Regions from separate parts of the Homo sapiens genome. Here regions 2, 3, 4, 5 and 6 are each linked to region 1. The links are contacts of gene promoters, found by promoter capture Hi-C in blood cells and fetal thymus (Javierre and others, 2016). All regions are on one chromosome and are shown on one strand. Each heading gives the region's core, a stretch centred on a gene start or on the middle of the fragment in contact. The rest is flanking DNA. Distances are from core to core; before and after follow the strand shown. Region 1 holds the start of TMEM132B (transmembrane protein 132B). Region 2 overlaps LOC107984449. Region 3 has its middle 27 kb from the start of LINC02372. Region 4 has its middle 18 kb from the start of LINC02372. Region 5 overlaps LINC00944 (long intergenic non-protein coding RNA 944). Region 6 holds the start of LINC00943 (long intergenic non-protein coding RNA 943).

Evidence for each region. The method cuts DNA at HindIII sites, captures the fragments that hold promoters and counts their contacts. A CHiCAGO score of 5 or more calls a contact.
Region 2: a contact is called between a fragment that was not itself captured here and the fragment with the promoter of TMEM132B in region 1, in 1 of 17 cell types (endothelial precursors). The highest score is 5.1, in endothelial precursors.
Region 3: a fragment that was not itself captured here is called in contact with the fragment with the promoter of TMEM132B in region 1 in 2 of 17 cell types (non-activated CD4 T cells and naive CD8 T cells); the score reaches 5.3 in non-activated CD4 T cells.
Region 4: a contact is called between a fragment that was not itself captured here and the fragment with the promoter of TMEM132B in region 1, in 1 of 17 cell types (activated CD4 T cells). The highest score is 6.0, in activated CD4 T cells.
Region 5: a contact is called between a fragment that was not itself captured here and the fragment with the promoter of TMEM132B in region 1, in 1 of 17 cell types (M2 macrophages). The highest score is 5.6, in M2 macrophages.
Region 6: a contact is called between a fragment that was not itself captured here and the fragment with the promoter of TMEM132B in region 1, in 1 of 17 cell types (M0 macrophages). The highest score is 7.4, in M0 macrophages.

Annotation. Positions count from the first base shown.
Region 1 is chr12:125,183,748-125,188,873 of GRCh38, forward strand. It overlaps TMEM132B (transmembrane protein 132B), which reads left to right and starts at 2,639. Exons shown (of 9, transcript NM_001366854.1): 1 at 2,639-3,119. The coding sequence starts at 3,053. RefSeq lists an enhancer at 1,840-2,373 and a silencer at 2,422-2,631. The HindIII fragment of the contact is 2,339 bases long and covers 1,613-3,951 here.
Region 2 is chr12:127,081,481-127,086,606 of GRCh38, forward strand. The region is part of intron 1 of LOC107984449; the gene reads left to right. Among named protein-coding and RNA genes, the nearest start is that of LINC02405, 24 kb to the left of the region's middle. The HindIII fragment of the contact is 1,542 bases long and covers 1,673-3,214 here.
Region 3 is chr12:126,898,814-126,903,939 of GRCh38, forward strand. No RefSeq gene overlaps it. Among named protein-coding and RNA genes, the nearest start is that of LINC02372, 27 kb to the left of the region's middle. RefSeq lists an enhancer at 3,564-4,763. The HindIII fragment of the contact is 196 bases long and covers 2,430-2,625 here.
Region 4 is chr12:126,854,548-126,859,673 of GRCh38, forward strand. No RefSeq gene overlaps it. Among named protein-coding and RNA genes, the nearest start is that of LINC02372, 18 kb to the right of the region's middle. The HindIII fragment of the contact is 293 bases long and covers 2,285-2,577 here.
Region 5 is chr12:126,757,942-126,763,067 of GRCh38, forward strand. The region is part of intron 1 of LINC00944 (long intergenic non-protein coding RNA 944); the gene reads right to left. Among named protein-coding and RNA genes, the nearest start is that of LINC00944, 12 kb to the right of the region's middle. The HindIII fragment of the contact is 1,201 bases long and covers 1,678-2,878 here.
Region 6 is chr12:126,735,938-126,741,063 of GRCh38, forward strand. The region is part of intron 3 of LINC00944 (long intergenic non-protein coding RNA 944); the gene reads right to left. It overlaps LINC00943 (long intergenic non-protein coding RNA 943), which reads left to right and starts at 1,070. Exons shown (of 4, transcript NR_038256.1): 1 at 1,070-1,219. The HindIII fragment of the contact is 2,656 bases long and covers 917-3,572 here.

The DNA.
Region 1 (5,126 bases), core at 1,389-3,888:
TCCAGGGAGGCTTTTTTCCCCTGCTTATTTCCTCCAGAAACACCCCCTTTAGAGATACAGGCTTAGGGGCATGGTTAATATGCAGAAATCCTCATCCAACCACAAGACAGGCTGAGCCAGGCTGGAATTCTCATCCCTACCCCACGTATGAGCTCAGAGAGGATTAGGGGCTTGTCCAGAGTCACACAGCTGGGGCATGGAAAAGCTACCCTCAAAAGGAGATTCCTCTCTTCAGCGTCTGGCTCAACCACCATCAGCATATTTTAATGGGGAAGTGCCCTTCCCCACTGAAAGGTGCTTTCTTGGAGTATGACCAGGTAGTCCTGAGTGTGGGGTTGGGGGGAAGGCAACTGCCATCTGCCATCACACCTGGGACTGTGTGACCACTGGCTTGGGGACTTGCTGGACTGATTCACAACCCTCTCCAAGCACCGCCACTAAAGCCACAGAATGACCCCTTACCCTGCCAGAAAATGACTTTTATCTTTGGCCACAGTCTCCCAGCCTCACTGACCTGCTTCCTGGTCAAACACACGGTTCACCTTGGCACCAGCACCCCGCGGTCACTCCTGCTGTGGCTCTCCCCTGCTGTCGTCCATTCATTTCTGCTTCACCATCCCCTGCAGAGGCCGGCACACAGTAGGTGCTCAGCTCTGCAGATGCTTATGAACAAGTGAACAGGAAAGAGGTGTTGGGGGCAGCCGGGCACAGAGGACCCTAAGAGAGTCCTGACCACGTCTCCAGGATCATCCTCTTATCTGGGGAAAGGGTCACAGAAAGGGGACAGATGGGCCCCTCGCAAGGCCACCCTAAGCCCGAGGAGACCCCCAATCCCGTCGTCCAGCCTGTTGTATGGCTCTCCACACATTGCAGGCCTTGCCAGGGAGCCCAAAGGGGGCTTGGCCTGGGCATGGGCCCCTTGTAAAGGAAGCCGATTAACAGCCACGGGAAAATCCCTTTACGTCTCCTAATTAACCTGGGCTGGAGACTCACCACCTGCCCCTGGCTTTCTTCCTTCTTTTATCTAGGAAGAACTGAGTGCTGCCTCTGCTAATGAGCTTGTCTGTACTAATCAAGCAGGTGCCCTGTCCCCCATCCCCTCTTGGCAGCCGGGAGTGGGGAGGATTGTCCTTCTGATGTGAGCTCTGGGCCCGCAGAGGAAAATCAGATCTATCATAATAATGGCCATGATGATGAGAATGATAATGTTGACACTGACTCCTTTAAATGAGTTCCGACTTCCTAGGTCAGGGGCTTTGTATGTGTTATTGGGGACACCAGGTGATGTGCAATGCCTTCCATCTCTCAGATGAGAAAACTGAGGCTCAGGGAGGAATAAGGGACTCGCCCCAGCTTGCACAGCTAAGGAGCGGCAGAGCTGGGATTCTCAGCCAAGACTCCATGACTCCAGAGCCTTCCCCAAATCTGTCTTTTCATCACCCCACGCTGCCTTATTGACCATTTTCAAAGAGTTTGACCCACTTTTTCATGGAAAACTGAGATGGCAGAGCAAGTGGCTGGTGTGGTGGGGGCTGGGGCGGAGCCAGGACTCCAAGCCACCCTCCCAGGTGGGCAACCCCCCATATCCCCTGTCCTCCCAGCGTGGTGGGGAAGCTTGAAGGCATCTGAGCGCTGCTGGAGGCTCCCCCACATGCTCCCAGCATGACTCATTCATTCGGCTTAGCCCCCCGTGGCTTTGCCCTGGTTGGGGGTGGGGCGCCCAGGAGGATCAGTGGTTTCTGGGATAATAGGTACTGGGGCTCCGTGTGACCTGTGACCTCCCTCCGCACTCTGGCTGCGTCCCTGCCCCTGGATGGAAGAATTCGACCACCTAGTACCCGGCCCTGCGCAACACCTCCGCTCCGTCACTGCCTGACCCTGCGCTGGGAACTCATTCCCGGGACCGCCAGGGAATCTGCCCTTCCCAGGAGAACTCCTGGCTGCCTCCGCGTGCTCCTAGGGCCTGCGCGAAATGGGAAGGCGCATCCTCTAGCCTGGGTAAATAAGGGACCCTGCCTCACCCGGGTGGCCATCCCCAGGCCGCCTTCGCTGTGTTTCAGGTCACCGCACCCAGCCTGCGCACCCCTAGCCCCCATCCCGGTGCCGTGCAGAGGCTCTGCACACAGCCTCGGCCTCCCGGAGGCCCTCCCCTCTCTCCTCTCCCCTCTCCCACAGGCACTCCCTAGCTGTGCCACATTTAACCCGGGACCTCCTGTCCGCGCTCAGTCTTGCAGTCTCTGGCCCCGGCAGACACCACCTCTCCAGAGGTCGCTGCCCCATCCCGGTGACCCTCCGCTGGCCTCCTCACCCCTCGACCTTGGCAACTCCTACCGCTGCGCCCCAAGACGCCGGATCTAGCTGGGCATCCCCTCTCTGCATTGCGCACCCCTCCCGCAGCCCCTGTACCCGCGAGCGCCCGCGACCCCCGGCGGGCTCCCGGAGCCTCCCGGCCGGGCGCCCTCCCCCGAACCGCCGAGCAGTGGCGCGTCCCGCCGCCTACTGGCCGGGCTGCCGCCTGTGCCCCGGCTCCCGGGCGGCCCCTCCCCCGGCCGCGGCCCCGCCCTCCGCTCCTCTCCTCCTCCTCCTCCTCCTACTCCTCCTCCTCCTCCTCCTCCCCCCGGCGCTCGCTCGCTCGCTCACTCTCTCGCTGGCTCGAGGGGCGGCCGGCAGATGGCGATGGCAGAGGCGGCGGCGGCGGCGGCGGCGCGACCGGGATGGGACGGGCGCTGGGGCGCAGGAGCCGCGGCGGCGGCGGCGGCGGGGGCCGCGCAACTCGGGCCAACTGCGGGGCAGCCGGCCAGGGCGCGGGGCGCTGAGCCTCGGCCGCCCCAGCTCCCCAGCCACGCACGGCCGAGCCCAGGAGAGCGCGCAGAGGCGCAGCCGAGGAAGCGCCGCCAGCGCCGGCGCATGCGTCTGGGGAGGAGCGGCGCGCTGGGAGCGAGCCATGCCCGGCGCCCGGGCGTAGCCGCCGGGGGCTGCTCCGGGAGCCGCGGGCCGGGCCGGGCGCGCGAGAGGAGCAGCCCCGCGCCGCACCCACCGCGCGCCGAGGACCATGCCGCCCCCGGGCCGGGCGCCGCCGCTCGGGCTCCTGCTGGCGCTGACTGCGCTCCAGTGCCCAGGTAACGCGTCCCCGGACCCCATCCCCGACCCCGGCCGAGGCGCACAAAGTTGGGTGAACGGGCGGCTACCTCCTTCTCAAGTCCCTGGCAGCGCGCATCTCCCGGACTTGGACAGACCTGGGGAGACCCTGGGAACCCAGGAGCCCCCGGCGCGTTCCCCTTTGCCTAGCGCCTGGGGAGAGCCCGCCTGCCTTCTCCCCCAAACCCTTAGCTTCCTTGCGGATCCTTTCGGGACGCACGGGGGCCACAGACCGGGGCACTCAGCCTCTCGAGGCGGGTGGGGACGCGACTGCAGGAATCGAGCCCCCTCCCCGCCCTGCCTTGGGCCAAATCCCCCCCAGGTCCCAGTTCCTCCAGGGGTTTTGCTGGGCGGGGGCGTCGACGCAGCCCTTCTCCAGTGTCTTGCTGCCCGCGGTCGCACAGTGGTGCGTTCCCGGGACACCTGCGGGCCCCGGAGATGTCTCGGCCGGCGCTGTCTGGCTTGTCCGCAGCCCCTCCCCACGCCCCGCGGCCCTCCCCTGCTTTCACACTGCCCTCCCCAAGCTACCCACCCTCGCCAAATGGCCTCCTCTTGGCCAAAGAGCAGCCCGCTGCGCGCCTCCTGCAAACGCGGTCTACTCCAGCGCCCTGACCCCAAGGCGGGCGGGAGAGGGTAGCCGCGGCCAAGCAGTCCAGGACGCGCCGGGGAGCCTGGAACGCGGTGCTGTCCAGAGCCATTGCCTGGGCACCGGGGAGCTGGACTCCCTGCTGAACCAGCTCAGCTGTCGCCCAATCCTAGTGAGTGGGAAAAGCAAAATAGTCAGGTATTGTCTGTCTTCGCTGGAGTTTGGAAAGCTTTCTACCCACCTTGGTGTGGCTACATGTTGGTTCTATAGAAAGCGTATCCTAAAATGACAATTCCTCCCCTCCCCCCACCCCATGCAAGCAGTGGAGAAAATCCTAAAGGCTCAGATGAACCCCGGGAACAGTCACGAGCAGCCTTCATGTGCTTTTGAAATCTCAGTTCTCCAAACCTTTTAAAATCAAGACCCATGATTTGGGAACAGGTAGCTTTTGCTTTAGAAAATCTCTCCCCATTTCCTTAACAAACAAATCGCACAGACAGGCAGAATGCAGTAGAAAAATACAACTATAACTTTTCGGCTTTCACTGTCTTGGTAAGGTTGCAGTTAGGAGCAAACCTGGCATGTCAACTTGATGTTCGATGTATTTTATTTGCATGGAAAAAGTCAGTGTCGGCTTCCTTTGAGATGCCCTTAAGTGACCCAAAATATTTACCAACACCTTCGACTTGAAGAAAACCTTCTATTGGAGATCTCCGTCAGCGTTCGGCTTTGGTTCAGCCTAGAGAATGGCATTGGGCTTAACGTGGATGAATCTTGCCTGCTTGGCTAAGGAGCAGCTATGATAGCTGTTTTGCTTTCGGCATTCCTCTGCGGTCCACGAGAGGGGCTGCTGCTGGGGCCGAGGCTGTTTTCTCTTAGCTGAAGCCCTGGGACCTGTTTGCAAAAGTGCAGTCCCTCGGACTTGAAAATTGCAGTTTTGTCTCTATTTTGTTTCTCCACGGGGGTCAGCATTTGCCTGGATGTGCTTATAAGTGAATATCGGAAGTCTCTCAGAGAAGCTGCCTGCATAATGCTTTGTAAGAGAATAGGATGGTCCCCCTACCACCCCCCCACCCCCGTCCCCCGCCCTCTCCCCCAGCAACAGAAGAGCCTGTGCCTGGCTCTGGAAGGCCCCATGTTGGGAGGGAAGGTGAGCTCCCACTGAAACCTGCTGCTGGCCGGCTCTTTGCCTGCTCCCCTGCTGTTCTTTGGGAGAGTCTCAGCAGGGCAGCTCGTTCCGACAAATGCCGTCCGGGCAGAGCCCCCAGTGCCATCGCCCCGTCCCTGGAAGCACATGCAAGTCTTTAACTGGTCCCTACCAGGGACATAAAGAGACGACAGTTTGATAACTCTATATTTAGCACTAGTTAGGAGGGATGGCAAAAAAAAAAAAAAAAAAAAA
Region 2 (5,126 bases), core at 1,194-3,693, 1.9 Mb after region 1:
TTTGGATTAGTCTCTCCTGCAATCTGCAAACAGTGGCAGAGTTATCTCTTTCTTTCCAATTGTTGTATCTGTTAGTTCTTATAACTCTGGGAAAATACTGAGTAAAGTCGTGATATCAGGCATCCTTCTCTCATTCCTCATAATAGGCAGAACAATGTCAATATTTCCTCAATTGAGTAAGGTTCTGTTTCATATGTTTTGAACAAGTTTTTTATACATTTAAGGAAATTTCCTTCTGTTCCCAGATAGCTCTGAGTAACTGATCATACTGGGTTAAATTTTATTAAATGTTTTTCTCCTTCAGTGAAAGAATCATGTTCTATTTGTTTGCTTAATTCTGTTACTGTAGTGATTATATTGACAGGCTTTTTAAACGTAAACTAACCTACCATTTCCATAATAAAGCCAACCTATTCTGTTGCCCAGGCTAAAGTGCAATGGCGCAATCTCAGTTTACTGTGACCTCCCTCTCCCAGGCTCAAGCGGTTCTCATTCCTCAGCCTCCCCTCCCGAGGAGCTGGGATTACAGGTATGTGCCACCATGGCTGACCAATTTTTTATTTGTGCCTTTAGTAGAGACGGGGTTTTACCATGTTGGCCAGGCTGGTCTCGAACTCCTGAGCGCAGGTGATTTGCCCGCCTCGGCCTCCCAAAGTGCAGGGATTACAGGTGTGAGCCACTGCACCTGGCCCTGAACTCTTTTTATAGTGTTTTTGCCATGTGTTGGGACCAAGGTTATGCTGGACAATAGAGAAACTGTGTACGTTTTTCCTCTTTTACTGTGGAAGAGTTGATGTGACATTGATGTATTTTTTTTTTTCTACTATCTGGAAGCTTTCTAAGCCTGGGTATATTTGTGGAAGAGTGTCGTAAGACACTCTCGTTTTTTAATATAATGTTTATTTTTCTTTCTTCTGTTTTTTTCTTTCCACATTTTTATTCTGATTAGCCTAGCTGCCAAGTTATTTGTATTTATTTTCCTTGCCATTGTAGGATTTATTAAAATTGAAGCAAAATTTATTTAATTAGTTTCGGGAGACTCTCAGAATCTCCTCTAATATTCTTCTCTATTCTCTTTTCTAATTTTGACACTGATTACACACATTTGTCAGGCTATTTCTCCATTCCAAAAATGTTTTTATATGTTTAATGTCCATTTAAACTATGTTTTTATGTTTGATTCCTCTCTGTTTATATTTCCATCTGACCATTTTCTACTGGCCTGTATTCCCAATCATTAATCATCATCTTAGTTTTGCCAAATACGCTGTTAAGCCCACATATTTGTTTATTAATTAAAATCTTGTATATTTTAGTAATAGAATTTCATTTGAATAATTGTATAGAGTGCTCTTTTCTGTTAAAATTTTTCATCTCATCATCTATGTTACTGAATATGTTTATGAGGGTTTTTAAATAATATTTTATTTTTCTTGTGTTTGGTAATTTCCTTTGGTAAACCTGATAGTTTTTAAAACAAATCTTTAATAAGACTTTTTTTTTGAAACGGCTTTGCATGAGCTTAGCTTCTGGGAAGCAGTTAGTGTGTATGTATGCAGGCTGCATTTGTTTTTCTATTATCTGATTAAGAAGACTTGAGGCTTGTGTTCAGTTTTTGTAAGTCTTGAGGGATTATTTTTTCTTGCTTATAGGATGCAATCTTTTAGTATAAAGCTTGAGTCATTTACCGGGGCTATGTTTCTTGCTGAGTTCTGAACCCAACTGTTTTTCCTTCCACATTTAGGGATTGCAGAGGCTCTGCTGACTCCTCAGCCTCCTAACTGCTGCTTCCTACTTGATTCTTTTGCCTCTTGGTCTTTATTTATTTATATAAATTTAATATTTTATTTATTTATTTATTATATATAAGGAAGTATCTTGAGCATCAAAGGAGTTTAGAGATTTCCAGGTTCACTTTTCCTTCCTAACTGATAGGTTGGCTACCCTTAACTGTACATTCAGCCTTCCCAGAACTGTAAGATCAGTAAAAGCTCTGCCTGGCATTTGCTGCATTTTAGTTTCACTTTCTATTTAGCATCTCGGGTTTCTACTCTTCACTGCTTATGAGTCAGCAAATATCGCAATGATAAGGCAGAATCAAACGCTGGGCTCACCTTGAAGTGCTTCCTTTCTCTCCTAGGGACAATGTTTCTCAAAACCTGAGGAAACAAGATAGCTTTGCAATGCTTTAAACAAACGTTATTTCCTTTGGTGCTTTACCAGTTAATTAATGTAGTTGTTCTAAATGGGAGGGTTGATCTACTGTAAACTGACCCATCACCACAAAACTTATGTTTTCTGAGAACTGTAATTTTCTAAATCTCCACAAATAAAAATTCCCCTATTTGAATGCATCTCTGCATTATTTTGTCTTCTTTGTGTTCAATTATGGAGCTAGAAACCTCCAAAGAGTTTAATTAAAATTAATCTGAACTTATTTGGGCGTAAGGGACAGCTCACAGATGAGAGGATAAAGCGAGAGTATAAATGACACCAAAAATCATTTTTTAATTCTATTTTGGGAAAGAATATGGTCTGCATTATTCCATACTAAGTTCAAAGACCTATGCCATTCCATAGAAACAAACTGTGTCGCATCCACACAATTGAATATTGTTTAGCAATAAGAATGAGTTTTCAGGCCACAAAAAACATATAGAGGAAACTTAGATGCATGTTGCTAAGTAAAATGAGTCAATCTGAAAGGCTGTATACTGTCTGATTCCAACTATATGGCATTCTTCAAAAGACAAAACAAGGCAAAATGACTAGTGGTTCCCAGGGTTGGGGGGTGGGGAGCGATAAACAAATGGAACACAGGGAATTTTTAGGGCAGTGAAACTATTCTGTATCGTGCTATAGTGGTGGATACATGACATTATGTAGTTGTCAAAACCTGTAGAATGTACAACACCAAGAGGGAACCCTACTGTAATGATGGACTTTAATGAATAATAATGTATGATTATTGGCTCACCCACTGTTAACAAATGTACCACATCAATGCAAGACGTTTATAATAGGGGGACCTGGGAGGGGTGAGGGAGTCTGTGCAAACTTTCTTTACATTCTACTCAACTTTTCTATAAACCTATAACTGCTCTTAAAATAGTATATTTAGAAAGGAAGGAAAACAACTCCCAAAAACAATAAGTACTATACTCACAGTATTGCACTATGCAATTAGTCATAACAATATAATTAAATCTTTTCAAGCTTGGCATTTTATAAAATTCCTCTGGATTTAGCTGTTAGGTTTGTATTATGCCACTCGAAGTGGGTTTTTTTTTCTATTTTTTTTTTTTTACAACAGCATTAGCTAGGCAAACAATGAAATACATCCTGGTATTTTAGGTAAAAGAGCACATCTGCATGTATTAAACACTCCCAGGATGTCAATCAAGATAGGAAACCACTTGAGATGGAAGAGATGGAATAAAATGATTTTCACAGGCATCCTCAATTGTCTGCAGCTTTATTGGAACCTAGTTTTGATTGCTGGGATTACCCTGAGCAATTAATTGCTTCTTTTTGATATAAATACCTTGCCTCCATTGGTTCATTCTTACAGTGGAGCTCCACCATTTTTCACATGATGAGTAGCATACTTGAAGTGATTGTTCTAGCATCTATTTCCAGGGAAGTATAATTTATCCGAAGCAGAGAGCTGACCTGACCACCAGCAGGAAAACCTTGTGGTAAGTTGCAAGGTCAGAAGTAGCAAAGTCTATCAATGAGGGAAAATAACATCCTCTTCTGGGAAAATTCAGTCCCTTTTAGCACAGACAGTGATCCCTAACTCTGGCTAAGCATTGGCATCATCTGTGGAGAACTTTTTGCAGTTGTCAACTTCTGGGGGATTCTGATGCAGTATGTATAAATCTGTGTGCTGCACACACTTCCCAGGTAACTCAAATCATGAAGGTTTGGGAGCCACTGGATGGATACATGAGCTCTCAATAAGCCCTATAACTTTACTGGTCCAACCTTGTTGGCATGTGGTAGCTATACTACAAGCCAACATATATGCTGAGAGATTTTCACCAACACCATATTTCTGTCTGATAAAAGGTATCTTACATGAGAGTTCTTACAAAGTCTTCTGTGTTACTGAGCTCACAGATACTTGAGTGACAATGACAAAAAAAAATACTATTTGAAGAAGACACATTAAACCTGCAATGACCTAAATCAGTGCAGTTTGGGGTGCTTAGACATCACATAACATAATTGGGTAAAGAATAGGAGGAGAAGGATTAGAGAAAGATGGAAGAGAAGAAAGTAGAGGAAACAAGGAAAGGAAGGAAAGAGGTAGTGAGAATCCTGAGTCACAGTTTGAAGAATACATGAAAATGGATTCCATCCAGTAGAAGGCAGGGTGGAAAACTCCAGACACAATCTAAGTAATAATTATTATTGAGAACAGATCCATTTTATCTCGTTTACATTCTAAAGAAAACAGCAGCTTTCCACCAAGATCTGGTTATTCACACCCTTCTCAATCTAGACAAAGGCAGATGTCTGCGTTCCCTCAGCAGAAGGCAACCTATGAATTATTTTACATGCCTCCCCATTCCATGGGATAAAATGTAACGGATCCATCCACACTCACTTCTGGTCCACAGGTAATTCCTGCAGGGCTCGCCAACTTGGTGAGACATGCCCTTCCCTGGATGGCCACTGACATCCAGTCACACAACCTCCTCCACTTCCTAAACACTCATCTTTCACTGGCATATTCAGTTATTTTTTAAAGCAACTTTTGTCACAAAAAAGAAATCAGACTCAGGCCCATATGAAATTGACGTGAGGATGCCCAGAAGACAAAGATGCAAATGCTGCAGAAACAACCCAATCAATAGACGTACTCATAATAATAGGTTTAAAAAACTTATTTAAGTCACTGAATATTTATTAAGCACCTATTACATGACAGGCACTATTCTGGGCACATAGTAAAGACCAAGATGGATAAATTCTATTTTCCTGGTAGTTCAGCTTCTGAAACAAGCAGCACAACCTTGGGTTTATCTCCTCTACATTCTAAAGTAGGATGATCAAAGTCATAGTCATGATTCACTAAGTGTACGGATGAGTTATCGTCAATCTCTGCCACAAACTCTCCA
Region 3 (5,126 bases), core at 1,278-3,777, 1.7 Mb after region 1:
AGGAAAAGAGAGAGGAAGAGAAGAAGCGAGCAAGAGGAGAGAAGGGAAATGGAAGAAGGGAGAGAGCGAGAAGGGGAGAGAGATCAAGCTGGAAATGAAAATGCATGTTGTGGCCACAGCATTACGGTACTTGGGTGCCAGGCTGCAGAACGTGTGCAGCACTTCCAAGGGAATAGGTAATATGGATATGACCATACAGACATCTAGACACATTCCCACATAACTGGTGTGTTCAAATTGTTTGTAGCTATTGCCTAGAAATAACATCTGTACTGTTGCATGTGTAGGACTCCATGCCCTTGTATGTCATATGTGTGAATCTGCATCTGTGTGTGTGTGTGTGTAAGTATATGTATGTGAAGAGTGTGCTATAGAAGTCTTTGAGTTGAAGAATCTGCATTGCCAAGAAAAAAAAATACAGAAAAGAAAAACAGGCATGATTAGTAGCCAATTTTTTTGAAAATCAGAACGATGCCTGTACTTATCTAGAAAATTCAAATAATCGGAAAGCGTTGTTTAAAGAGAAAGGAAACAAAAAACAAGAAGTATGAAACAGTTTTTCATCCCTTCCATATTTCCCCTAGACCACAGGCAATCATTCTTTACTACTTTTGTACTTTAAATATTAATCTCCAGAGCTCAAAATACCATGCTTCTTTTTCTGTCTTGATTCTTTGCTAAAATAGCAAAGAACAGTTTTCCTTCTCCTTTCAGAGTTCCTTTTTCTTCAGGGTTGCTTTACTCTTTTTGATTTCTTGGTTTTTTGTTTGTTTTGTTTTGTTTTGTTTTGTTTTGTTTTGTTTTGGAGACAGGGTCTCACTCTGTTGCCCAGGCTGGAGTGCCGTGGCAGGATCATAGCTCACTGCCATCTTGACCTCCTGAGCTCAAGCGATCCTCCCTCCTCAGCCTCCCAAGTAGCTGGGACTACAGGTGCATGCCACTATGCCCAGCTGATTATTCTATTGTTATTATTTTTAGTAGCAATGAGGTCTTGCTATGTTGCCCAGGTTGATCTCACACTACTGAGCTCAAAGCTGTCCTCCTGCCTTGGACTGCCAACGTGTGTTTGCTTGTTTTATTTTTTGTTTGGTGTCATTTACGTTGAAGGGTGTCCTCGTGTGTGGTGGTCTTTTTTGCTTGTCCATGTCAGAAAGTGGGAACTAAGCAGTGGAGCCTGCGGCTGGTTGCCGGGGCTGATCCCTGTAGGGTGATCTGCTGGGTTGTTTCATTCCTGAAGCCTTCATGCCGGCTGCTTTAGGCATTTCTTCTTGCCTTGGTCAAATTCTTCAGAGAAGGAGCATCCGGTCTCCTGTGAGGAGGGTCTTGATCTGCCGTCATCACCCTGGAGCACGGCTGAGGAAGAGACTGTGCATCCCAGTGTTCAGTGCACCCTTGCATGTGCTCAGTATGGACGCTCATTTCCAGCCAGGCCGGAGACTTTCTCTTTGCTGTCTGCGGAGAAGAATCCAACATCAGTGAGGGCGGGTATCTGTTCTGTGCGGGAAACGCGCAGGGGAGAAGAAAAGACACACACACACAATACCTTTAAGGGTAAACAGCCTTTATCCCAAGTATATGGCAATACAGATACAGTAAGCAAATCATATAATAAGCAAATGATACAATACGCAAATTACAATGGGAAGGGGAGAAGGGAAAAGATGCATGTATTTACACTCACCAGCCTATGGAGGATTCACCCCCAGACCGGGAAGGAGCAGCCTGGGTTCCAGAGTCGGCCACTCGTCCGTGCACGGCCGAGGAGAGGTCTCAGGAAGCTTCGGCACAGTCTGGGACCCGAGCTCTTTTTGTAACGAGTTGTTTGGCATGAGGCCCAGTCACGAGGGCCCCTTGCGACTTGGCTCAAGGAACACAAAAAGGTCAACTCGTTTTTGCAATTGTCTATCGTTTTTCAATAACTGACGTATAGGAATACATCAAAATAGAGATTTCTCTGAAACAGCGCTAGATGAACGCCTCAAGGTGCTCACACAACCTGTTCCGGGACTTGGTGACCATTGTTTGTGTCCACTTTCAATTGAGTTCAAATTTAATATTTACCTTTTCCTCCACAGTATCCAGGTGCCTGGAACTGGGGAGGGGGGCAAACTCTGTGGAATAAATGTGATTGCTGTTTGACTCCCCTTCCCTCCCCACTGGTATAGGATTTAACTTGCTGGGACCCCCCACTGTTTGCCAACTTCCGTTTCTTGTTTGTTTTTTTTTATTACATCCTCTCCTTTTCCCTTTGTCTCTTGGGTTTATGACTTACAAACAGAATCAATATTTGCATTTTAGTGGTGTTTGGGAAGGAGTGGGGGGGTACAATTTGACATCTTTACTAAATGCTGATTAACCGATCTTTTTTACAATTTCATTTGAATAATTTAATGTTATGTAGACCACAGTGTAATGGGCTACAAAATGTAAGCTTTTAATTTATTTCATCCCATATGATTACTATCAATTTCTTGATTCTTCCATTATGATGCTTTCTCAGCTATTAGTGTCGTCTAACTGCCAGTAAAACAGACAAAAATTCAGCGCCAAGGGTTCAAGAAGACAAAATCAACTCCTTTTCTTTCTTTGTTTTTTCCCTAGTAGGTATAGTTTGTTTGTAAATCAAGCTTTTATGGAAATGAAGGGGAAAAACCTGCTAACATTCTTTTTTCTGCCTTAACCTCCTAGGATGAATGATTCCTTGTACCCTCAATGTTTTGACCCTCAAAAAAAAATCCATTTTAACCAGGACATCTACATAACTTTGCTCCCTGAAGTCCTATGGAGCAGAGGCAAAAGGTCAACATATTTTCATAATGTACATTTTTTCTTACGAAAACATATTTCTTGAATGGATTTTATGCCAAGTAATAATTAGACCTAATCCCTAGGTCTTCATATGTTAACCCTGCACCATGATTAATGATTCTGTAAAAAATAAGTAATGTTTGCATTTTCTATACACCATCAACCCAGCAGAGGAATAAGAGAATGCTTTCAACATTTAGTTAACCCTACGAGTGAGAGAATTATTTGACTTTTAAAATTAAAATAACTACTGCACATCTTGATTCTCATCACATTTTTCTCTTTATTACTGTTTTTATCCTGTTACCTGTCACTCGTATCACAGGAAATGATGCATCCTTTTTTTTTTTTTTTTTTTTTTGGCTTTTCAAAAATTTTAATAGCTTATTCCCTGTTAAAGCTAAGAAATACTTTCCAGTATACCCTACCTCCCAAAGTATCAGGGATTTTTTGTTTTTTAATCCAAGAGAGATTTATGAGATCATAAAACACAATCTTTATGTTCTTTGCTTCCCTTTTCCCAAAATCTAAAATTATTCAGAAATATTTAACCTTTTCTTGATTTGTAGCCATTACAGCTAATTGGAGGATCCTGCCATAAAATGATGGCCCTCTGTCATGTGTTGCCTACTTGTTTAATTTAGATTTGTGGTTTCTTGAAAGCCAACTGAAAGTGTTTGACCCCTCATAGGAAAATCCTGTTGTGAATGAGAAGGATTCCACAGATCACATACCAGAGCGGTTTTGCCTCAGCTGCTCTCAACTTTGTAATCTTGTGAAGAAGCTGACAAGCTTGGGTGAGACAATGTTTTGCATGATGCATCCTTTATAAGAAATAACAATTTGCTACAATTAGCAAGATTCATATTAAACGGTTAAAGAAGTATATGCTTTTTATTGACAAAATTGAAAATTATATAGGGAAAATCTTTCTTTCTTTCTCCCTCCCTCCTTTCCTCCCTTCCTCCCTCTTTCTCTTTCCCTTTCTTTTTTCCTTCCTTCATATACATGTTAGCATTTCCTTTATGAACAAAGAGGAAGAAGAGAGAAATGTCCTCAGAGGGGAAATATGTTCAGTGATCTGTATTTAATTCACTCGTGTATATTATGAACCAGCTACTATTTTAATTTCATATTCTGTATTTGAAATTCCTAATCACACTTTGTTTCACTCCATCTGCTTTGCCCTTCCCCTAAAGCTTTATTTTCCTTTACTGAGTCACCTTTTATAATTTACTGAGAACTCACAGCTTTAATTTCAAGATGATTACTCTCTACTTCTCTGATGACAAGAGTTAAGAGACGCTGATGTAATCGCAAAGGAGAGGAATTCCACCTACCTGCAGGAGTTGGCCTAGCAATTCTCAGAAGGTAGGAACCAGAAGGGGCAGCCTCTGAGAACTCCACCTTCAGGGCACTGGCACAGATCCTGACACTGGGGAGGGTCAGTGTGTTACAGGAAAGGGGTCCTGATCCAGACCCCCAGAGAGGGTTCCTGGATCTCGCACAGGAAAGAATTCAGGGAGAGTCCATAGAGAAAAGTGAAAGCAATTTTATCAGGAAAGAAAAGGAAAAAAAGAATGGCCACTCTGCAGACAGAGGAGCCCTGAGGGCTGCTAAATGCCCATTTTTATGGTATTTCTTGATGATATGTTAAACAAGAGTTGGATTATTCATGCCTCCCCTTTTTAGACCATATAGGGTAACATCCTGACGTTGCCATGGCATTTGTAAACTATCATGGCGCTGGTGGGAGTGTAGCAGTGAGGACAACCGGAGGTCATGCTCATCGCCATCTTGGTTTTGGTGGGTTTCCGCTGGCCTCTTTACTGCAACCTGTTTCATCAGCAAAGTTTGTGACCTGTATCTTGTGACGACCTCCTATCTCATCCTGTGACTTAGAATGGCTTAGCCTCCTGGGAATGCAGCCTAGTAGGTCTCAGCCTCATTTTACCCAGTTCCTGTTTAAGATGGAGTTGCTCAGGTTCAAATGTCTTTGACAAATGCACTCCCCACGTGGATGCTCAGAGTCTCATGGAGAGAGTTCGCAGCCCTGTTCACTCTTCTAGGTTTTTGGAGTGGTACAAAATGATATAGAAAATTAGGTGGTATTTTACAATCTGCAGTACAGTGAAGGGGAAACTGTTCTACTCTTTACCTGCATTAAGTTTATAATTTAATAGCACCTTTCTGAATTTCAACTTTGGTATTTAACTCAACCAGGCTGAAAAGTTTCTTCCAAAGCTTCCAAATAGTACATTAATAGTCCTGGTTTTAGAAAGCTGTTTAGCGACTTCAAATTCTGGATAGCATCTCTC
Region 4 (5,126 bases), core at 1,181-3,680, 1.7 Mb after region 1:
AGCAGTGATCCAAAGGATGCAAGAAGCACATTGGTACCATATGTCAGGCTTTACCAAGGCAAACAGGTCTTGATCCCTTTTGTGGCAATCACTTAATGAATTAGGAGTGCCTGGATCATTTTCTAAGCTAGCATGTGCTGATGATGTCTTTTAATCTCCAAAAGTCAGGGATAAAATGATAAAAATAAAGGAGCTCATGAGATGTGTCAGTAGCTGGTCAAGATAGAATAACAGGGACTAAATGTAACCATTTACTTGAAATAACTAAAGAAATGGTTAAAATAAAATAAAATAAAACAACTGCTTTCAGTCATTGGGCATTAGATGGTACAGTATATTAATCCCTGTGTTAAGGAAAGCAAATTAATTGAGTCCTATCATTGTTCCAGCTTATTTCCTGGAGAACATTACCAAGGCACAACTCAGAGAGGGGAATCCAAGCAGAGCCCAGTAGTTTTCAGATTTGAGAAGATAGACATGGAAATCCAAAGAGACCAAGGCAGCTGGAGCTCATAGGATGCCGTAGACAAAAGAGGTGGTTTTTGTTTGTTTGTTTCTGTTTTTGTTTTACAGGGAGAGAGGAGACATTTCTCATTCCCACAGAGAGTTCCTTTCAAGTCTTCAGCTAAGTGCTGATCAATGTATGAATGCAGAGAAATGGTCTGAGCTGTGGGAAGGACCAAAGGGTGAGAGGGAAGCGTGGATGAAGAGAGGCTGGTCAATGAGTACAAAAATACAATTAGAAAGAATATATGATTTAGTATTTAATAGAGTATGGTGACTATAGTTTACAATAATTTCTTGTGTAGTTCAAAATAACTAGAAAAATGGGAATATTCCTAATGTAAGGAAAGAAACTGTTAGAGGTAATAGACATCCTAATTACCCTGACTGGATCATTACGCACTGTACGCCTATATCAAAATATCACATGTACCCCCCAAATATGTTCAACTATTATGTATCAATTAAAAACTGGGAATGACAGTTCATATCTTACAGAGTTAGTATAAGAACTTAAATACAATAATGGAGACTAGTATATTAAAAAAGGGAGAGATGCAGGGGGAAATATTATTCTCACACAGTGTCAGAAATGGTTTGTGTTTCCACCAATGAAAATGGAGAAACTGACTAGTACATGGAGCATCAGGTTGAGTATTAAGAAGGATAGTGCATTCGTAGTGGGGCCAAATTAACACTAAGCTAAAGTAAGCCTGGGTCCTTACTAACAAAGCTTAAAAGCAAGTATTAAAAAGGCCAAACTGTCTCATAGCAAAGTGCATGAATATTTATGCAATAATGCAATAAGAAAATCCCACAACATAATGTGACTTTTACACAGTCTGGCAGAAAGAATGACACCAATGATGGAATGATCAGGCAAAGGTACTAAAACAGTTATCATTAATAGGGCTCATATGTTTGAGAAGATAATGATTCAGTAGACACATGAAAGGAATTTTTAAAAGACACAAAACAAACCTTTAGAGAAGAATATTACAATGACTAAGAAGAAAATGACATGGGATGGGATTAACAGCAGAATAGCTATTACAAAATCAAGGATTAGTAAACTTGAGGACATAGCAACAAGAAGTATTTCAAATGAAGCACAGAGAGAAAAAACAGCTGGGGAAAAGTAAAGCAGCAGATAATAAAATCAACAGTATTAGATTCACAAATTCATCCCATTCTGAAAAGTCCTAAAAAGGGGAATAATATTGCTACATTCAGGGAAGTGGTCACGTTGAGGAAACATTCTTTTAAAAAAATAAACCCTACTTGAAAGATCTTCATAATCAACAAATGGACCAACAACAGCTTTGGTGATTCTGAAACCCTGGAAAAAAAACCTCAGTACTACATCTAACTTAAATACTGCCCTAAATTTTTGGTAAATTCTACGATGTTTTTCACTTTAGTCAATAACCATTTGCTGCTGAAGAGAGAAGGAAAGTAATGAGGTTAAGAAGTGGCATGCAGGAGTCTGTCATGTATCTGTGATGTTTCTTTACCTTGATAGGCTATACATAGACCTGCTTTTATATTCTCTCACCCCTTTTCACTCTGGCTCATCGAATCCTGATTTTGTATTTTGTAGGCAGTAAACTCTTGCCCTCAAGGAAGTAAGCCTCCATCCTTTGTCCAATCCTCAAATTTAAACTGGTCAAGCCTCCCTCTTTTGTCCAATCCTCAAATTTAAACTGGTCATGATTATATCTTTCTAATTGGTTAAGAGACTGGCAGTTCACCCAGTTCTAGCAAACGAGATGCAAGGGAAAGCTTGCGGGGGCTTCTGGGCAATATTTTATTTCTGGATAACATATGCCTTGGTAGCAAGGAGTCCCTTAACCATCTGCTTAGATCAGTATCTTGTAGCCAAGGGCAATAAGTTCAACATCACAAAGCAAAAATTCTTAATGTGGCAGAATGCAAAGACAGTAAGTGACATCACTGAGCTGCTGAACCATTTGGACGCCACCAATCTCTGGACTTCCTGTTGTATGAGACAATGGGATGCCATCCTTCCATATTCCACAGTCAGTGAGAGCATGGAGGGAAAGGTGACAGAGAAGCTTGTTAGTAGAAAATGCCAGGTATCTTAATGGTCCTTGGTGGTCAAGTGTGGAATTGCATGATAGGGAAGAATCCCTAAGCACCACAGACATAAGGGAAGTTTGTTTATACTGACCATCTCCTTCTTGCTGGTCTCCATCTAGTGCTTCTGAGAAAGATTGGATGCAGAGCAGGACACCTGAAAGACCCCCACCACCCCACCGCCACCCCACTTGTTGGTTCAAGTAACAAGGATTGAATGTAGGACACTAGAGTAGGTACCTGGAGTAGATAATCCACACTTCAAGACTTGCATAGAGGCAAGTAGTAATGAGATGCTGCAAGTAACAGACACACAACACATGCCAACTTGTACTCTTCTCTTATATAAAGCAAAATTCACCTGCCACGAGAAGAGGGGCCAGAATCCTGCCTATGAATGGTTTCTAATGCTGCTTTGACAGGAAGGCTAGAATGGTACATAACCTCCCTTGGCTACATATATTAGTTGGTTCTCACGCTGTTATCAAGACGTACCTGAGACTGGGTAATTTATAAAGAAAAGGAGTTTAATTAGCTCACAATTTTGTGGACTGCACAGGCCTCTGCTTCTGGGGAGGCCTCAGGAAACTTACAGTCACGGTGGAAATGCAAAGCGGAAGCAGGCATGTTTTCGCATGACCCATAGAAAAGAAAGAGAGGCAGAAGGGGAAGGTGCCGTACACCCCTTTTTTTTTTTTTTTTTTTTTTTTTTTTTTTTTTTTTTTTTTTTTTTTTTTTTTGAGGCAGAGTCTCACTCTGTCCGCGGAGGCTGGAGTGCAATGGCACGATCTCGGCTCACTGCAAGCTCCGCCTCCCGGGTTCACGCCATTCTCCTGCCTCAGCCTCCCGAGCAGCTGGGACTACAGGCGCCCGCCACCACGCCCGGCTAATTTTTTGTATTTTTTAGTAGAAAGGGGGTTTCACCGTGTTAGCCAGGATGGTCTCGATCTCCTGACCTCGTGATCCGCCCACCTCGGCCTCCCAAAGTGCTGGGATTACAGGCGTGAGCCACCGCGCCAGGCCACCACACACTTTTTTACAACCAGATTTTGTGAGAATTGTATCACGGACAGCACTAGAGGAATGGTGCTACATGATTAGAAATCACCTCCATGATTCAATCACCTCCTACCAGGACCCTCCTCCAACACTGAGGATTACAATTTGATGTGAGATAGGCGTGTGGACACAGAGCCAAACCATGTCACTATATGTTAAACTTCAACACAGCACAGCTGCCTATAGAGCAGCGTTTGCTTGTTGCTTTGAAGGCCATTTAGGACGTGCATATGCAACTTCTTGCCTTGTAACTTTGTCATAAAATTCTTTTCAGCAACAGCAGTTCACTTTTTTATAATAGTATTTCCATAACTATTATTTCAGAAAGACTATTAAAGACAGGTATACTGTAAACACACTAGAGGAGAAAAAATAAAAATAAAAATAAAATTTCCCTAAACACCATAAAGAAAAAAGTGATTAGTGCTTTTTTCCCTCCTTGGCATTAGAAATAGTTATTGGCTCAAGAAATGGTATGTTTTAAGTCAATGGATTCCCCAGCATGTGGGCGTAATGAGAGAAATGAAAACGATGACAGCCTGGGGCTGAGTATCTGATTTCCAAGGCAGAATAGAAGCTCAAATGAAGGCATGTGCCTGTCTATCCTGTTGTGTAAAGAGAGAATGAATGAGAGACTAAGGAGCTTATGTCAAATAAAGTCTTTAGCTTCTGATGTGGACGTTGGATTCTCAGAACACCTGGCTTGTGGCTGATGGCTGCTCTCCTCATCTTCCTGATTGGGTAGCTAGTCAAATTAAAAATAGCAATAATAATAACAAGGGTAGAAGAGAGTAGAGTCATGCTTGGGAATCAATCTAGTAAAAATTGGGATTGTGTAGATAATAATAGCAATGATTAAAAACCAATGCATTACAGAGTGCCCAAAATGTGCCAACTCTAAGATAGTTGCTCTAAGCAATATTTTGCGTGAATTAACTGTCTTTGCTCCCCAATAATTTTGTAAATTATTTTTTGACGTTATCATCATTTTGCAGGTGTGGAAATGAGTGCACTAAGAGTCTAGATGCACAGTTTACATTATACAGTGATGATGGGAGTGGTTGGCACTCAAACCCACCTCCTGTGTCCCAGTTCTGACACTGTAAGCATTTACATTTCTCTGCCTCAGTAAATCTCTTTTCCAGTGGAGCAGAGACTTATTTCTGAGCTCATGGGCTTGCATTGCCTTTGTCCCCTGCTAGACCTAGGTGTTTTTTTGTTTTGGTTTGGTTTTTTGAGACAGAGTCTTGCTCGGTCGCTTAGGCTGGAGTACAGTGGCACAATCTCAGCTTACTGCAACCTCTGCCTCCTGGCTTCAAGAGACTCCCATGCCTCAGCCTCCTGAGTAGCTGGGAACACAGATGCGCACCACCACACCTGGCTAATTTTTAAATTTTTAGTAGAGATGGGGTTTTGGGGTTTTGCCATGTTGGTCAGGCTGGTCTCAAACTCCTGGCCTCAAGTGA
Region 5 (5,126 bases), core at 1,028-3,527, 1.6 Mb after region 1:
AAGTTTTCATGTTGTGTGAAATCTAGGTTTGTTTTCTGTTGGTAACTAATATTCGTGCTTTAAGATACAGATAAGGCTGGGAAAAAAAAAAAAAAACAAAAAAATGCAGCCCGCTCTCTTCCAGTATTTGATCTTTGATTAAAAGCTTGTGGCCATTTTTCGCCTTCTAGGATGGTAAGGGGGAAGGGGCAGGGGGTGGAGGGGAGCTGCTGGAGAGGTCTGGATAAAAACGTGACTTAGAGGGATAAATGAGCCTGCAAGGGTTGGATGTCCATGCCTTCTCTGACATGGAAACCTCATGCTGAAAAATGCAAACATTAGCACCTTATGGCACAGCTGTTCCCAAGCCCTTGGGGACATTTTGTCTCCTTCTGCTCTTCTTTGCTAGGCTCTCCTTTGAAACTTATGTAGAAATCAATTATCCAAACTGGGGACTGGAATTCCAAGATACCCACTGGTGGTCGTAGCTCCCTTTTGCCTAAATCGGCTGCCATTCACGACTTAGCGAAGTTGCAAAAATTTCAGATGGCACAAGAAAAGGAGAATGCTGCAGAAATCTCTTTCTAGAGTTGATTGATTGACTGAAAAGAGGAATCATCTCCATCATAACATGTCTTTTAATTAAACTATTAATTTTAATATTATTAAATATTAATATGTGTATTAATTTTCTCAATGCCAATCTGACTACCCTAAGCAGACTCTAAGCTCCAAGTAGTCAGAAAATTTTCATCTTCTAAATTACCCAGCAAAGAGGGCAGCTGATAACAGATATTTTTAATATGTTGAATGTTTACATGAGATCAAATAAAATTTGACTTAGCTTATGATTTCATGAGACATTTTGAAAATTTTGATAAAGGGGTGTGGTGAAACATAAGAATTACTATGTATCTTTCTTTACAGTCTCATTACAATTAGGCCTAAACATTTTAGATGTTTATAAACAATGTTAAAACAAGGACATTTATCTGATAAGATCTGGTATCCATAAGAATGTTACATTTATGTCTGTCTTAAGATAAAAAGTTTGAGAAAAATTTTTTTGACAGCAAGAAAAATTACTTGAATTCTAGAGATCTAGAAAGATTTTGAATTCAAGTGAATGATGCTCTTTAAAATACCATTCTAACATCCTTAGAAATATATTTCCACTAAATGATTATAGGGATGGACAATCAGCCGTGTTTCCTGGAATGCTTAGCCGGGCTGGGATGATCATGGCTCAAGATTTGGCTTTCCAGAGCACAGCAAAACAAAACAACACAAAACAAAACAAACAAACAAACATTCTCTTTAAGGAAGCTGTTCAGGAAGGCTTCATAAGTACTTTTCCAGGGCTGATAGCATAAAACCCAACCCCTAGACATAGCATGAGGCCTTTCCCATACTTCTCCAGATTAATTCTTTCATTGATTAACTCCTTCCTTCTTCCTCCTGGCCCAAAGAACATATCCCAAAGCCACAAAAATAGCCATCTTTTCAGAACACCTTGGGCCACAGGTAGATGGGATTATTGCTCCTAAATTTTTATTCTTCTCTACATTAGAATCTATACCCTGTGTGAAGTGAGTTTGCAATTCCTCCCACGGAAGCTTGGCTGGGCCTTGTATTTTGGTCAATGAAATGTGAGCAGAAGTGACTGATTGCAAGAAAAATTCTTAAGGGTTACTGAAAAGCTTCTGTCTGTTCCTCTTATGCTGTTGCCATTCTCCATGTAAAGAACATGCTGTACCCAGTAACTGCTTGCATGAAAAATGAAGAAACACCTGGAACAGACCTATACTTGAGACTAGGGTTGTCTGTTACCCAGCATTGTTGCAGCAATAGCACAGTTACACCGTTGTTTGTTTCTCTCCTCCTTTGCCAAACCCATTTCTATCTCAGGCTGAGGCCATTCCCATTGCCCAGGGACTTTGCTCCTCCCCACCAGTCTCACTTCCCCTCCCCAAATTATTCAACAAGATAATGTGCTCTGTTTATTAGGTTTTAGCTTAAATGTCACATTTTTGGGGTGAGAGAGGGGAAGAGAGGGCTTCTTTAACTCTCAGTATAAATAATGACTTTGCTTTGTGTTTGCTGTCTTGGTAGCTTGTTTATATTTTTCTGCAGCCCTTATGACAATTTAAAATCATATTTATGTGTGAATTGGTTTCATGTCCTTCTTTCTCTCCTAGCCATGGAAACAGAGATCATGTCTATTTTATTTCTCACCATACAGGCAGTACATATAGTGGCTAAAGTCATGGGGTTCTGGAGGCTGGGTGAAAATTCCAGCTCTGCCCCTTACTAACTATTAACTATTGACAGCTGTGTTACTCAGCCATTTAGCTTCCGTTTCTTTACTTCTACAGTGACGTCATAACAGAAAATACCTCACATGTTTTTCATTCAGAACAAGAAGAAAAGGCACATAAAGCACTTAGAATAAATTTCTATATCAACCCACTCCGTTGGCATTGTTAGTGTCTTATAACCCTGATCATTTCAATATCTGCACTTAGGACCCACTGTGTAAATATCTGTTGGATGAATGGATGCATGCTACCTCCTATGATGACAGTCTATTATGACAGGGCCTTGTCTTTGGTCATAAGGTAAAAATGTGGTGGGTCAGTAGACGCCTGGTTACTCTGCAAGTTTCCCAGCTCCAAGAGTATTATCACTAGCATGTCAGTATCACTCTTCTTCATATCCTAACAGAAAGCATCCTAGCATGTTATCTGGTGGGGAAGGTGATGGTTATACATCTTGTTGCACAGTAGACAAAAGAGAAGACTACTCAAGGAAGAACACTATCTTTGGAGAAGAGTGGGATGAAACTTGGGAGGCATCTGAGTTACACTGATTTTTTTTTCTTTTTACCATATAAACATGAAGCTTTGGAGACAGAAAGGGTGAAGTTTGATTCTTAAATGCAAGAGGTGGGCAACTCCATGGATGAGATATTTTCACATTCATGTAAGCACGGCTTTCAGATGTGAGCTCACCTGTGGATGAAGCCCCTTAGTCCTCAATCTTCCTCTGCATCAGGCTGTCTTTATCTTGTCTGCAGTGCTTCAGTCAAGGTGATCAATGACCTTCTCCACATGTTTATTCTGCGGCTGTGGCCGACACTGTTTCAATTAACACAACAGCCATTTTCACCACCTTCTCCTTTGTCCCCTCCCACTAAAATACCTGCAAAGCCAGGCACTCACTTTACCAAACTTCCTTCTAACAAGAGGTGGCCATGTGACCCAGTGCTGGCCGATGAGGTCTTAGACAGTCATTTGAGATTTCTGGGAAAACTCTTGCCTCCTTAACAAAAGGAAAAATATGATAGGAACCTTCCCTCTTCTTTCTGCCATGAAAAGGCTGTGATGGCGAAAGCTGTGCAGCCATCTTGTGAACATGATTTGCTAAGCAGGAGAATGAAAAATCAACATTGGAGGATGGCAGACATGGATTGTACAAAGGGCCCCTGTTTTTGGTTTCATTGCTAAACCAATGCATCAATCTAGAATCACCTACTCACAGTTTTCTCCACTAGGAGATACGTAGGTGCCTTGACTGTGTGAGCCATTATTTTAGCAATTTCTGTTACTTGTATATAGAAATGTCAGAATCGTTATAGCACTGAATATTTGGTTCTTCACTAAACCCCTGAGATATACATGATAGGGATATGGTACCAGTGACTCACTTTCTGAGTAGACAATGAGACATATATAAGTAAAACAGAAAGTGATAGAAGAGAACACACAGTGGCCACATCTGTCCAGCTCATTTGTTCAATTTTCTACATAATTTATCCCCAAAGTACTGAATCTGGAAACTTTAAGTTCTACTTTAACCATTTAAAATTTCCCCATATGTTAGATTTGGAAACTGATCATTAGGGAGTTAAAGTAACTCTCTCAAGGTCACCAAATCAATAAAAGGTGGAGCTGGATTTCTAAACAAAATCTTCACCTCCTAAGTAGCTGCTTCTGAGCCCCATGCATTATTGCTGTCAATTAACCTAATTAATACTTAGTGTCTAAGTTACTTAATCTCTTAATTTTATTTCTTATTTTCTATATCAGGAACAAGCCAGAATACAACATTTATTGTTTCATTTATTTTTTCATTCATATTGCCATTCTTTTATCCAATCTTCTTTGAGAGTTTACCAGATAGTTACTACTTTTTCTTGATCTTACTGGTGAGAACATTGAGGCTCAAAAGGATTAAATGATTGCCCCAGGGTCACACAGTCTATAAGTAGCAAAGCGGGAATTTGAATGCTGACCGTTCACCTGTGAAACTGTCCCTGTAAACTTTAGAAAATGAACCAGGGAAGAAGGAAGCTGGGGAAAAGGAACTGAACCCAGCTTGCAGCACGCTTAGCATTCACCATGAGGGAAGCCTGCTCTCTGAACTGCTTCCTGCTCTCTGAACTGCTTCCTCATAGCTGTTTGGTGCTGATTGCCTCATAATCACATAGAACCTGTTCCAAGATTAGAGTTCCATGTAACTGCTCTGTAATTAACAACTTGAACATTGGAAAATATTGTCCACTTGGGATACTGTGCTAGTCCATTTTCATGCTGCTGATAAAGACATACCCGAGACTGAGTAATTTATACAGGAAAAAGGGTTTAATGGACTTACATTTCAATGTGGCTGGGGAGGCCTCACAATCATGGCAGAAGGCAAGGAGGAGCAAGTCATATCTTCCATGGATGGCAGCAGGCAAAGAGAGAGCTTGTGCAGGAAAACTCCCCTTTTTAAAACTGTCAGATCTCATGAGACTTATTTGCTATCATGAGAAGAGTATGGAAAAGTCCTGCCCCCATTATTCAATGACCTCCTACCAGGTCCCTTCCAAAATACATGGGAATTCAAGATAAGATATGGGTGAGGACACAGCCAAATCATATCAGATACCCTTTCAATCTGGTATACCAGTGAAACTACTAACTCAGCTGGTCTGAAGGACCCTGCAAGAAACTGTCTTACCAAAGAATGCAGTTTCCATGTCCTGATGGTTTATCCCTCCTATCCTAACCAATCAATGACCCCAATCTTCCAGCCCCTCAACCTCCATGAACAGCTCCAGCCCAGAAACCCTTGCAGAGATGGAAAAAACAGTCTCCTTCCAT
Region 6 (5,126 bases), core at 995-3,494, 1.6 Mb after region 1:
GGGCAGTATGGCGTGCTGCCAGGGAAGATGTTGAGAAGACGTTCCCACAATGAGGCAGTTGGGGCCTTGTTCCCACAGAATGTAATAATGATGTTCCTTGGACTTTTTCTCAGCAGAATGTGTTAAAGTCAGGCGGTTGGGCAGGCAGGTTCTCATGGCCCGAACCCTCGTGGAATGTTTCACTTTGACCAAGGTCTGCATATTGGCAGGGAGCTTACAAAATGGTGCATTTTGGATTAACAGGTCTCAGTCTTGGGCTCCTCGTTGTCTGACAGATCCTAAATCTTGGCCCCTGCTGTTCCAGGTTCTCTTCTCATCATGCATGTTCTCTGGGTAATTTCATTCACTCCTAAGGCTTAAAACATCATCTCTCTGCTGAAGGCTTCTAAATCTCTTTCCCTAGCTCGGAGCCCTTTTCTGAGATTCAGATCCATGTGTAGTTTGATCTGGTGGGCACTGGTACTTTTGTATTCCACAGGTATCTTTGGCAACTATCTACTTCTTTCTATCTTCAGGGCTATTCTTTCAGGGTCATTCTAGCAGTCCCTAGCAGAGTTTACTGTCCTTGTCCCCGCCTGCTTTTGGTCCATTCTCCATCATTGTAGAGAGATATATTTAATCAAATCTTCTCATTCATGATTAGGTCATGTCAGTGCCTTTCCATTAGTCTTTGGATAAAGGCTAAGCATTTTAAAATGCTTAATGGCTTTTTGTGATATGACTCTTACCTAAAACTCTCCAGCTTGTGTTTTGCAGTTTGTCCCTTCTCTTGAACTTCATCTTTCAGTCACACTGAACTTTCAGGCTCTCCTAATGGCTATGTGTTCTCATCCTCTGGGCATTTACCTCTGCTGTTCCAGGAAATGGTCTTCAACATCTTCAGATACCTAGAAGGTTTGCCCCTCAGTGGGAAGAAAGCTTCCAACTCCCAGCGGTTCCAGCAGAAGTCCTGGGGCTGGAGAGCTGTTCCTGAGTTGCCTGTGATCACATACCACACCTGATGGCATCACTGTATCCAGGCTCCAGGTGCATAGAATGTTGTGAGGTCATGACTGCCAGCATTATGACCAGTCTTGGAACTAGGATTGGGGTGGGGTTCATCCCACCCAGACCACAGAGACTGAAAATAAGAAAGGGGTGAGGCCTAAGGGACAATCAGGATGTTTTTCAGAGAGAAGTGTGGATGCTGGACAGGAAGAACCACAGATACCAGATACGGGTACTGTTGTAACTCTGTTCTCCATGAAAAGTAATTTGCTTTTGCTTGATACTAATCTTTTTGCCCTCATACTCTTGTGCGTGGAGTTTATCTATCCACCTCCAACAGACACTCACACACCTCCCAGTCATTTCTTATCCTTCAAAACCAGCTCAGACATGTGCTTTTCCAGAGAAAAGATTGACGTTCTTCCCTCCCAGGCTGACTTTCCATATGCAAAGTACACATGTAGACACTGCAATGCATTACACACAGCATTTGATTTGTGGGTCTGTCTTCTCCACCACATGAGCTGACCAGAAATCATGCCATCTACATTTCCACATCCTCAACAAGTAGTTAAGACCTGGCACAGAGGAAGTAGTGCTTGATTAGGTTTGGGGAATAAGGGATATAGTTTTTTTGTTGTTTGTTTGTTTTTCGAGATGGTGTTTCACTCTTGTTTCCCAGGCTGGAGTGCAATGGCGCGATTTCGGCTCACCGCAACCTCCTGGGTTCAAGCGATTCTCCCAGTTTCCTCCAAGGCTCTTGTGTAAACTGTTCTTATTGAGACTTTGGGTTGGAGATTTCTAAGGCTTGTGGGATAATAAATCTTCTATTTTTTTTCTTGAGTTCCTCTTTATAGGTTTTATTCCACAGACATTTCCTGAAACTTTACTAATTAAAACAATGATGAGGCCTGCTTTGGGTACTTAACAGGACTGTCTACTAGGGGACACAAGAGAAGGACATGACAGAGCCTGTGACTTTTACCAGCCATCAGTTCAAAGGGAAACTTGCAAACAGCCTGCAGCTGGTTGAAGGATCAGGAAGGAAATAGTTCATCTGAGCACAGCCTCTGGAGCCTGAGTTCAAATCCTAACTCACCCCTTGTTAGTTTTGTGCCAGTGGGCAAACTTCTTAACCTCATATGACTCAGTAGATGCAAAGTACTTAACTCATGCTTGATGTATAGTTAGCAATTAATAGTTAAGATTAATTTAATTACCTATTTGTGATTATTTCAAACTCATTTATCTCTTCTTTTTCTAAACTCTGACAATAGTTAAAACTGTATAAAGCAATTTTAGCAGTGCATAATGCATTTTCATTTATGCATCAGTATTTATTGTGAGCATATGTCTTCTCTTCCCAACTATATTATTTGTTTCCAGGGATAATACTGTGTCTTCCACTGTGGATATGTGTTGGCTGTGTCATACGTGTAACAGCGGCCTTTACATAATTAGCTCTGATAGAAATGATACTTACATCTGTTTTTTTCTGTAACATAAGTTAAACATAATATAACAGTAATATAATACCATGAAAAAGACGGCAGGAGTGACAGTTAAGCTCCTGAGCTGACACTGTTTCAACTCTTAAGAAGCACCCATTAATACATCAACAAGTGTTATGGCCATTTTTAAACAGTCTTAATTTCCTTAAGGTAGTTGCGTTAATCTTCTGGTACTGCCATAAAATACCATAGGCTGGGTGGCTTAAATTTTATTTTCTCACTATTCTGGAGACTGGAAGCCCAAGAGCAAAGTGCCTGCTGATTAGTTCCAGGGCTTTCTTCCCAGCTTGCAGACAACCACCTTCTCACAGTGTCTTCACGTGGCAGAGAGAAATAGCGAGCGTTCTGCTATCTCTCCTTATAAGGATCCTATCAGACTACCACCTACTTTAACCTTAATTACTTCATTACTCCAAACTCAGCCAGATTGGATGTTAGGGCTTCAACATACGAATTTTGGGGGACACAGTTCAGTCCATAGCAGAGGTCTTTCCACAAGAAAAAAGCAACATGATTGTTCTATCTCTCTAGTTTTTGTAAATCAGTCCATACAAGAAACTGGCTTCCCCAAGTTATCCTGGATGACTTGTATTTTACCTTTTTAACAAACAAATTAAATTACCATATTGATGAGGAGTCAATGCCTAGATCGGGGCTATAAACTCACCCTGGGTCCTGGTATTCAAATGTATCATGGGGATTCTGTCTCCATCTCCAGTGCTGCTTTCCCCAATGTCGGCCTTGTTCTCACACAGTTCCCTGAAGGGGTGACAGGAAGGCCAGGCAGGGGACACAAATGAGGCAAGCAGTCTGGGCATGGGCAGCAGGGAATGGTGGGGACTGCAGCGAACCTTAGGACAGAGGCCCCATGTAAAGGGCTCAGCAGCCACTGAGGGCCATCTGACTAGTGCCAGGAAAAATGTATGTCCCACTTTCCAGATCTTTTTATATTTTCAAAGAAAAGCTAGAGAGCTGGATTTTTTAAAGATTGACAACTAATTAGATGTTAAAAATTGTGTTAGATTAGAAGAAAAATGTCATCTAGCATGGGATCTATTTTGGATCTCTAGCCTAAGCTTTTGGAGGAAATTGGTAAAACTGCCAAGATCACATTGGTCGGGGGTTAACTTATGTCTGATTTTTTCATTGCTACTGAGCTTATTACTGAGGACCCAGTGTCATAAAGTATTTCTATTAGATCATTCATGGCACTGGGTTCAGACAGTCTAATCTTACAATGCTAAAAAAAAAAGAGTCAATTCCAACAGTAACTTTTTTCTCCAGAATAATTGCTTAAATATCTGGTACACTCTGAGGGCACTCTTGGTTTCTCTTTTTTAACAAGATTACTGAGTTGAATAAGTCAGATTATGTTATTATTTCACTATTTTGTTTGGGTTTGGGAATGAACAATTGTTAATTTTTTTCTGCTTAGCATTCCTTTGCCCTTCCTGTCCTAACAGTATCTAAGAATGCTATGGAAAAACACCACCTGTCCCCTACCTTCCAGCTTTGTACTTCAGAAAAACTGACCCTTTTTTAGGCCTCGGTAGGGGGCCTCCTGGCATAGGCTGGGCTACTCAATATAGTCTCCCCCTAGGCCACAGTGATAGGGTTAGTGACGACACATGACCCACTAGAGACAATGACATGCTGCATGGCTTATTCCTTCTTCTACTGTGACTTGTGGAAAAGGAACCCTAACCAGTTCTTGATGGACTGAACAACATTTAGGAGATGGTGTTCTTGTCACCTTGTGGAGCTTAAGCAAAAAGCCACACCATGGAAAGCAGGACTGAGAAATGAATGAAAAAGCATGTTGGTGCCATTGGTTGCACCTGAATCCATCTGAGCCTGAAGCCAGTCTACTCCTAGTGACTGCATGTTTTATAGAATTCTTTTAAAAGAATCCTTACTGATATACATAATGGCCAAAGAAGAGGAAGATCAGTCTCAATTAGTGAGAAGTCCAAAGCAAATGGACTCTGTGGATGGTCCCATCAAAATGAAGTCAAAGGTTAAGGGCACATTTAAGTTGTCTCATGGTGTGTTTTTGGTGGGTGGATAGACTATAAAATCCCACTTAGCACAGAGAAAACAAACTGAACCTCAGAGGACTTACGTGGTTTCTCTCAGTACCTACAGTGGGCTCATGCAGGCCTGGGGCTCCAGCTCAGGTGTCTCAGCTTCTCAGGGCATCAGCTGCCTCCTATTCAGGTAGTGACAGAGCTACTAGGATTGCTCAGTGAACATCCATATACCAGCTCCTAGATTCAACAGTTAATATTTTACAATGTTTGCTCATCACGTATCTATCCATCTGGTCCACTGTCCACCCTTTAATCCATCTTATTTCATGTTTTAATTGGAGGTCATCTTACTTGATGCACAGATTTTTATTCATTTGGCAAATATGTAAGACCTCCCTCTAGGCACTTGGGATGAAACAGTGAGCTAAATACCAAAACGTTTCCTCTCAGGAGGCTGGACATTTTGGGGGGATTGATGATTGATAGAAGAGTAACAAAACGTATACATAGGACATTTTTAGGCGGCAATAAATGTTTTTAAGGAAACAGAATAGGATGAAATGACTGAATCTCTAAGACACATTCCAGCTAGGAAAAC